Linked DNA regions of Homo sapiens: all the other regions are linked to region 1. Evidence: promoter capture Hi-C in 16 types of primary human blood cells and fetal thymus (Javierre and others, 2016). All regions are on one chromosome and are shown on one strand. The core of a region is centred on a gene start or on the middle of the fragment in contact, and the rest is flanking DNA. Distances in the headings are between cores, read along the strand shown. Region 1 holds the start of BCORL1 (BCL6 corepressor like 1). Region 2 overlaps ENOX2 (ecto-NOX disulfide-thiol exchanger 2). Region 3 has its middle 14 kb from the start of ENOX2.

Region 1 (3,032 bases), core at 99-2,598:
CACTCCCACCGCCTTCCCCCTTCTTCAGCCATCTGACTCTCCTAGGGGTATGTGTTTTTGGGGGTGGACGGCGACGGGGGTGGGGGATACTTTCCTTCCCGTGGCGGCAACCTAGTTCGTATCTTATTCCTACAAGGTAGCGTCGCTTCGAGTCGCATGGACATTGGGGTTTAGATAATTTACCCCCCACCCAAGCGATTTAATGGCTTTTAAGCAAAAGGCGAATACCTGGATTTCCATGGGAGGGATGAGGTTTGAAGATTGGGATTCACCCCTAGCTCACTTCCACTACCAACCCCTCTTTCTTGTGAGCCACTTCCACGGGTATTCAAATCTGGGGGGGAGGGGGGACGGGAGTATTAATATGCTTCTCTATTTCTACACAGGGTCGGCGTGGCGAAGGACGGCTAGCCTTGGAGGGAAAGTAGCCACCAGTCCAACTCGGGTCGCCCCCACCATTATTTCGGTGAGGGGGCAACGCTAAGAAGGGGATACTGGTGGGTAGGGGCCCAGTATAAGGGAGGGGGCTGGGTAGTCGTCCCCAGAAGGACTCCGTGTCTTGGCGGGGAGAGAGAGAGGCGAGCCCCGGCTTCAGGGGAGGGGTTCCGGGGAGGGAGATGGGGGGGTGGCGACGACGGTGGGGGGGGGAGCGGGAAGAAGGGGGAGTCACGCCCTGCCTGCAAGGGGAGCCTCCCTCAGGCCCCTGGGAGAAGGGGACTGAATGCGTCTGTTCTCCGCTGCCCGGCAGAGGAGATCTGGGGTCTCGAGATTTGCACACTGGATCGGCACCAGTGGCCTGAGAAAGTCAGGTCGGGGCATAAGGTGGAGAACGTTGGAAGAAAGAGAGAGAACCCTTTGGCCGCGGCTCACTGACCCTCTCCCTTCCTCAACCTCCCCCTTCGAGGGGCGTCGAGGTGGGGGGGGACGTGGGGCTCCTGCAGCCCCGCAGATTGAGCGCCTCCGCCTCTCCCAGGAGTCTAGCTTTTTGCCCGGCTTGCTGCAGCCACTGCTGCCTCCCTCTCCGGAATCCGCTCGGTCCTCTCAGCGATCCCCTCCTCCTCTCCTCCCCTCCCAGTGTCACCGGGGCTGCTTGGCTCTGCCCCCTTCGCCGCCGCTTGCTCCCTGCTTTCGTCCCTCCCTCTCTTGCTCGCTCCCTCCCTTCGCCTCCTCCTCCCCATTCCCCCCCACCCGCGTAGGCCGCATTCTGGGAGTTGTAGTCCGGTGGAGCGGGGGTTGGCGCCGCCCGCGGACCCAGCCGGACTCCACTTCCCGTCGAGCCCTGCGACCGGCACCCACTCCACCAGGCTTCGCTCGCACACAGACACACACACACACCGCTCTCCCCCTCACTCTTTCGCTCGCCGCGGCTGCTGCCAGTGTGTGGCTCTGTCTCTCCTCCGCTTTGCTGAGCCCTCCCTTCTTCCTCTCAGTTCCTAGAGTCCGACCGCCGCCGCCGCCGAGAGAGAGGAGAAGGAGGTCGGTGGCGATAAGGGGCGGAGGGGGGCATCAGATCGGGGCAGTATTAGGCGGGTGGCGGTTAAGAGGGAGTAAGAGGGAGCCCGGGTGGCGGCCTGAGCCTCCCCGCGGAGCCGACCCGGGAACAGGTGCGTCTTTTTTCTCTCTCCCCCAATCCCTCCACCCCTTTTGACTCCCCGGCTTTTTCGTATCCCCCCACCCGCTTCTTTCTATCTTAAGCCTTTCTCCAACCCTGTTCCTTCTTTTCCCTGCGGCCGCTCGGCTTGCCCCCCGGGGGCGCCGTCCTCTTCGTGTCCCCGGACGTAGCGCTCCCTGGAGCTGGGTATGTCTTCGCCCCTCCCTTCGGGACAGCTCCCTTCCACTTCCCACCTTCGTACCCCATCCCCTGACTTGCCCTACCCCCTTCTCGACCCCCTTCTCTCTTAGCCAGGTGAGACTCGTTCGCCACGATCCAAGAGAGTCTTCTTCCCGGCTGGGCGGGGGTCTCCATGGAAACGGGGGTCGGTTGATCCTGGGGGGGAAACCATAGGAATTACCCCACTCCTCGGAAAGGGAGGTGGAGGCTATGGTCTTGTTAACTACCTGACTCCAACCCCCGATCCAAGGATCCGACGATCCGAAGGGAGGCTGGCTAGCAGGGCAGGGCGAGAAAAGGCTTTTTTTTGGGGGGGGGGGGTGTCCGTGATGAAGTGTTGAAGAGACCGGGAGAAAATGCCCTCCAACCTCAGAGGGGAGGTGCGACGGGTGCTCTTCAGGGCTGCTTTCTTCCCGGCGCTGGGGTGCGGGAATCGTAGGGTAAGGGGTACCCCTAGGTGGCGGCGGGGCCTGGGTTCGGGAGTGGGAGTGCTGTGATGGGGGCAGGGGCAATTATCCGAGTCCCTGGAAAAAAGGCGGGGGATGACTTCGGAGCGCCCTGGCTCCGCTGCCCTCGCTCTAGGGGCGGGGGCCGCCGGGCCGGGCGCGGCGGGGAGGGGGCTTAAATTGAAGGAAGATGAGATCGGGGGCAATTCATACTAGCACCGGCAAGCCAGAGGGGAGATCCGGCGTGCAAGCCCTCCACCCGCTTCGCGCCAGGCCTGGAGGCAAGGGGTCGGCGAGCGAAGCCGAGGGCTGGAAGGAGGGAGGCTCCGGTTACGGGGCCGGGTTTCGGGATCAGGGGCAATCCCCCGGCCCTTGGAGAAGGAGGGAGAGGGATGGCCGCGAACCCCAGGGCTCCCCCACCCCGGGTCCTAAGGGGCGTGAGGGACGGACAGCAGGCCCAGCGGAGCTGGATTCGAGCGGATCGCGGCCGGGGAGTGGGAGGGCTTAGTGGTGGGCTTCGGGGGGAGCAGTCCGGCGGCGGGGCGGGCGGGCGGGGCGTGGGGCTCCGGCGGGCGGCGGGGCGGGGCCGGGGGCGGCGCTGCTGCCGCCGCCGCTGCCGCCGCCGCCGCTGCTGCTCCTGCTGGGGCCGCCGCAGCCGTTGCCGCCGCCGCCGCCGCCGCTTCTGGGCGGGGAACGGAGGCCAAAGAGAGTCCCGTGCCGGGGCAGAGGGCGCAGGCGGCGCGCGGTGGGGAGGG
Region 2 (3,201 bases), core at 29-2,528, 920 kb after region 1:
TTAATATTTTTTTGTGTGTTTACCATTACAGGATTTTTCCTATGTATGCCTACACAGATGTGTGTGTGCGTGTGCGTGTGTGTGTGCGTGTGTGTGTGTGTATTATGTATATGTTTTTAAACTGGGATCTGTCACTCTGTACTGAGAGTTCTATGATGTGAATTTTCTCTTAATATATCAAAAACAATTTTCCACATCATTAAATATTGTTTGGTAAAATCAACTTACAAGGCTACTTAGTAATCCATTCTATAAATGTACCACAATTGATTTCATTCAAATCCCTAGTATTGTACATTTAAGATGTTCTTTTTTTTCTTTTTTTTTTTTTTGTTGTTTTTGCTATTAGTATAAACAACTCTGGGATAGATGTCCTGAGTATTAAATTTTTGGAAACATCATGATTGTTTCCTCAGCATAGAGCTCTAGAAGTTGAAGTGGTAGGTTAAAAGCTGTATTCTATTAAGGTTTCTGATACATATTGACGAATTGCTCTCCAGAAGAGCTGTATCAAATTATAGTCCCAGCAGCAGAGTCTATGAGTAGGAGATGAACTTGAGAGTGATGTCAAGGACGGAGTGTACTGGACTTGGGTGGGTAGAAGGAAGGATGTTTCCTGGCAAAGTATCAGGGCAGGAGGAAGATGAACTCTGTCAAGAGCAGCAAAGTAATGGGCAGGGCTAAGGAATAGGTGCCTGGATAGGTAAATGATAGGAAAGAAAAAGGTAAGATAACCAGGGGAGAGTGAAGAAAAGAGGGAAAAAGTAGGTCTTTCATGAAATTATGGGCACTTTAATTTACTCCTTTCTTCAGCAAAAGTAGCAAATGTAGCAAACAGCTAGTCTTTTCATAGCATTTGGCACTCTGTGCTACCAAGGTCCCCAGTTATATTCATGCAAATCTGTTTATCAATTCTTTTCACCCAATAACCATTTATTAGGTGACTACCATGTGTCAAGTGCTCTTCTGGATGCTATGGGTATGGAGATGAATGAAACCTGGTCCCTGCCCTCAAGGAGTTCACAGTCTAGTGGGGAACACAGAGACATCCACAGACCGACACCCTACAGTGTGGTACAGGCTAGGACGGAGGTAACTAAGTGCAGGGTCCTGTGGAAGCCCGAGGCCTAACATTGCCTTGTGCGTGCATTCATGTATGTTGGGCAAGGGCTGTCGGGAAGGCTTCACAGAGGTGTTGACATATGAGCTGAGTCTTAAAGGCTGAGGAATTTCTTGCATGCCTAAGGGTCACAGATCATGGTCATATTCCTAATCAGTGCCTTGAATATTTGTGCTACTGCTCTCAAGGACACTGAGTAAGGTGGGAAGGATGTTTGTGTGTAATCCAAATCCACTCGAGTGGTAACTATAGCTTCCATTGTAATCTTAATGAACATAGAAACATAGCATGTTTTGGCAATATTATTGCTCACCATACAATATAAAGGACAAGAGGCAAGGGGGGCATGCAGACTTTTAAAACAATTCTGGTAACACTGACAAAATAATATTAACATCCACCAAGTCCTAATAATTTTACCTCCTAAATGTTTCTCAAATCTCTTCGCTCCGCTCACGTCACTACTCTTGGGTCTTTATTGTCTCTCTGTGGAACAGAGTAGCAGCCTCATCATATCCACCTCCACTGTATCCTTCCCACTGTCATTTTCCTTACAGTAAAAATCTGATCGTGGTGCTCTTCTAAAACATGTTAATGGTTTCTTATGGCCTACAAGCAGCACTTCCCAAATTTCAGTCTGAGTATTACTTAGTGATTTTTACCATATTCACACACAATGTGTACTATTACTACTTAATATTTGTCTTTAAATGAACTGAAAACTGGTTCACTTTCTATTTTTATGAAGTAAAATCCAAAGTAATCTTAGATGTGATGGCTTAGTTCAGTTTTATGTTTTTTAAGACATATTTGAACATGTAACTAGTAAAATTAAAATGTTTGTGGGAGCACAGTGTAACTACCACTGGCAGATGCCCTACGTTTTGAGAACCACTGACCTATGGGGGCACATTCCAACTTAGGATTGCAATCAAGGTTCTTTGCAAATCAGCCCCAACCTCTTTCCAGACTCTTCTCCTACCCATTACAGTTTCCTTTTACTCAACTATCTGCACTCCAACCATGCTGAATTCTTCCACATTGAATGAACATGCCCTACTCTTATACAGCCACACATCTTTCACAGACTGACTCCTCTATCTGAAATGCCTCCCCTCCACTCCTTCCCTGCCTGGGGCAAACTCACTATCCTTCAAGACCTATCTCATGTCACCTCCTCATGGAAGCCTTCTCCCCGAGTCTCCCTTACAGTGAGTCACACCTTCCTTTATCCCTCCATAGCATTTTGTACCTGTCTCTGTTATACTACACACTACAGTATCTCAGAACTGTGGGCATCCAGCTCCCCAGCTAGACCCCAGGAAGAGTTCACACCTTGTACTTCATTGTTTCTCCAACACTTCACGTGGGCAGAGGTCATGAAAGAGATCTAGTGTCCCAGGTAACTTCTTAAAATGCTAAAATAAAATACATCCAAAGTGCTATCAAGGTCCAAATAGCTTAGAGGTATGATATGTGTTATAAAGAGAATCATCTAATTCAGAAATAGCCGTACTGACTATGGTTTTGGCAGACACAATTAGCTACAGTTGCAATGACAGTTAATTTGGTTTTGGCAGCTACTTTACAGCAAATACATTCTGACATAGAAATTTTAAGTGAATCATTTGGGTTTTGGCCAGGATGATGAACTATACCTATCTCTCCTTACCACAACTGGAAAGTCAAGAACAAGAAAGAACATTGGGAGCAGCAAACCATGTTGAACAGAGCATGGGCTTTGGAGTCAGAAATCTGTACACCCAAACCTCAACTCAACTTATAATCTATGTGACTTTAAGTAGATTGTTTAACTTCTGTGCATTTTAGTGTTTTCTTCTAGAAAAAGAAACAGGAATAATAGTACCTACTTCATAACACTCAAGATAATGCAACAAAGTATTTATGATGATGACTAGGACATTATGTGGGTTCAATAAATAGCAGTCATTATTGTCACCCAATGAGATGACTACAGTTCAGATAATGTGATGCACGGGGACAGCAAATGCATTTCTTAAGAAAATATATCGATGTCTCTAGGCTTTAAAGTTGACAGCTATAGACTGTAGCTAAGAATA
Region 3 (3,123 bases), core at 504-3,003, 930 kb after region 1:
TGTCACAGATCCTGTAGTGTGCCAGAATGAATTCAGGATTAAGTAGGAAACTGGAGACTGAAGTGACTGAGAGCCAGGACAGGGTTAGCCTCCTAAAACACCCTGTCTGGAGGGCTTCACTGTGGCTAAGGGCTGCTAATATGAGAAGTGTATACTACAGCTATAAAATTAAAGATAGCACTTACTACATGCTAGGTGCTGTTCCAAGCGCTTTACAAGGAATAACTCTTTTTTGCCTTATTATAACCTTATTATGATAGCAATTATTATTATTTTCTTTTAAAGTTGTGGAAACTGAAGCGTATTAAGCACTCTCCAGCCACCAATTTTTCTCAGAGGTTTTTGTTTTGTTTGTTTGTTTGTTTGAGACAGAGTCTCACTCTGTTGCCCAGGCTGGTGTGCAGTGGCGCGATCTCAGCTCACTGTAACCTCTGCCTCCAGGGTTCAAGCAATTCTCCTGCCTCACCCTCTCGCGTAGCTGGGATTACAGGCGCCTGCCACGAGATGCCTATTTTTAGTAGAGACGAGGTTTCACCACGTTGGCCAGGCTGGTCTCGAACTCCTGACCTCAGGTGATCCACCTGTCTTGGCCTCCCAAAATGCTGGGATTACAGACGTGAGCCACTGCACCTGGCCAGAGTTTTTTTTTTTTTTTTCTTGTCTTCATTCTTTCCCTGTACCCTGAAACTCACCTTGATCTGCCTTGCCTGGGAATAACATTTTATTCCAATAATGTTCTATATATAATGTTCTATATAATTCTGGAGTCAAGGTACCTTGGAAATCTAGCCAACCATAGCTAACTAATCTTTCTTTCTGCCCCTATCAGCCTCATAGACATGTCCTCAGTGGGACATCTTCCAGGAAGTACCAAGGAGTGGCTTTGGGGAAATAGGGAGAGATGGTTAGAAGAGCAACTCTTCCCGAGCAAAAAGAATTAAGAGGACTTATACAGCCTTTTGAAAGTGTGGCAATGGGATACTTTGTCTTAGAGAAGAGCTTCCTGGCCCAAGTGCTGGAAAGGAAGGATGAGGGAAGGTGGAAACACACGGATGAAAGTATGGGCAGGGCTGTAACCTTAGTCAATGGGCTAGGATGGCCCATGCACGGTGGTTTGGGGTAGACCTTAAATAAAAAATAAAAACTCTTCTCCCATAACAAAGTCTTGTTTGGTTGTCCAGGAAGCCCCCCACAGAATTCAAACGCCTCTGGGAAGTTTGGTGCAGAGCTTATGGGCTTTTCGCATTCTCTGGTGCCACCTGGTGGACAACAAGAGGTAATGAGATGGGATCTAGGAAATTGGGCAGTTCAGTTTGGAAGGGAGGAGAGGGGAAGTGAAGCTGGACCAGATGATTAGTGCTGTAGTGGGCAGGCACTGAGGGGACCCAGTGCACCCACAGGAAAATTGGGTTCCTGGTGAGGCTGATGGAGTCAAAGAGTGTAGACCGTTAGAGATAATATATGTAAAGACCCTGATCTACAGGCCAACTGTAACAGCATCAAAAGGTAGTGTTTACTACTTACCACATGCCAGACTGTGTTATTAACTTTTTCATGAATTTTTTAAAATTTAATTCTTCCAGCCACACTTTGTAGCATCCCCATTTTGCAGATAAGTTAAAGTGAGGCTCAGCGTTAGTGGCAGAGACAATGTTCAAGGTTTTAATCATTATGCCATAAATTGTAGTTGTTGCCAATATTGTGATATGATGTGAAATTAGAGATATGAAGGAGGATCCTTAAGTACTTCAAATCTGAGTCAAGTAGGCTTTGATGCCAGTGGGAGAAAAGGGAAGGAGAAGTGTCATATACACCACCATCTCTACCTTATCCACCTTCAAATATGGGGAAACAAAACAAAAGCAATCTAGAATTCACCTACCCACTGTCTCAGCCAGTAAGCACATTTTAGGCACCTATTCTATCCAGAGCTTTGTGGGACAAAATGGCATTTGCCCCCAGGAGTCCTGATATGCCAGCATTACTCGTTTCTCCCCACCCCTATCTCCAGGTCTTCTAAAGTCCTCAGGTGGGGAGCATGTTGGTGAGTCTTTCAGAAAACACTGTCCCATAGGGAATAAAAGACAAAAAATAAATTCCATCTATATGTTGATTGAGGAATTAGGAAATGTCTTGGTTTAAAAAAAATAGGAGAAGCAAAAGAAATCAGAAAACATTGAGCACCTGCTATATGTTAGCTAGGCCCTATGCTGAGTGCTTGACAACAGAATTTTATCTAATCCTTCCAACTTCTGTGAGGCAGGTCTCTAAATATTGCCGTTTGAAAGTGAGGATAACTGAGGATCAGGGAGGTTAGGCAACCTCTCTATAGTCACACAGCTAATCAGTAGGGGAACTCTGTATGGCCGCAAAACCTATGCTGTTTTAGAATGAAGGGAGGAGGGTATTTATTTTTCCTTTTTATTGTGGAAAAGTTCAATCAAATGAAAAATAGAAGTAATAGTATAATGAAGTCCCTTTTACCCATTACCTAGTTTCAATTACAGTTAGCACATACTCAATCTTATTTCATCTGTTCTCCCATTCACCCCCTCCCACAAAACTGGATTATTATAAGTAAATTCCACACATCATTTTATTTTATCCACAACATTTTCAGGCTGCATCTCTAAAAGATATGGACTTTTAACAAAACATGACTAAAATACTGTTATCACAGCTGTAAAATTAATACTAATTCTTTCATATGATCAAATATATATTTTGTGTTTAAATTCCTCCTATCATCTCATGTCTTTTCTCATTATATTAGTCCATTTTCACACTGCTGATAAAGACATACCCAAGACTGGGAAATTTACAAAAGAAAAAGGTTTAATTGGACTTACATTTCCACGTGGCTGGGGAAGCCTCACAATCATGGAGGAAGGCAAGAAGGAGCAAGTCATGTCTCATATGGATAGCAACAGGCAAAGAGAGAGAGAGCTTGTACAGGGGAACTCCTCTTTTTAAAACCATCAGATCTCATGAGACTTACTATCACGAGAACAGCACAGGAAAGACTTGCTCCCATGATTCAATTACCTCCCAGTGGGTCCTTCCCACAACATATGGAAATTCAAGATGAGATTTGGGTGGGGACAGAGCCAAACCATGTCATTC

What was found. Contacts are between HindIII fragments. The CHiCAGO score rates a contact against its expected background, and 5 or more counts as called.
Region 2: a fragment that was not itself captured here is called in contact with the fragment with the promoter of BCORL1 in region 1 in 3 of 17 cell types (total B cells, naive CD4 T cells and fetal thymus); the score reaches 6.3 in total B cells.
Region 3: a fragment that was not itself captured here is called in contact with the fragment with the promoter of BCORL1 in region 1 in 1 of 17 cell types (naive CD4 T cells); the score reaches 5.3 in naive CD4 T cells.

Annotation. Positions count from the first base shown.
Region 1 is chrX:129,981,287-129,984,318 of GRCh38, forward strand. BCORL1 (BCL6 corepressor like 1) reads left to right here and starts at 1,349. Exons shown (of 14, transcript NM_001379451.1): 1 at 1,349-1,476. RefSeq lists a silencer at 2,178-2,414. The HindIII fragment of the contact is 8,398 bases long and covers 1-3,032 here.
Region 2 is chrX:130,898,419-130,901,619 of GRCh38, forward strand. The region is part of intron 2 of ENOX2 (ecto-NOX disulfide-thiol exchanger 2); the gene reads right to left. Among named protein-coding and RNA genes, the nearest start is that of ENOX2, 3.2 kb to the right of the region's middle. The HindIII fragment of the contact is 3,898 bases long and covers 1-3,201 here.
Region 3 is chrX:130,915,771-130,918,893 of GRCh38, forward strand. No RefSeq gene overlaps it. Among named protein-coding and RNA genes, the nearest start is that of ENOX2, 14 kb to the left of the region's middle. The HindIII fragment of the contact is 4,302 bases long and covers 1-3,123 here.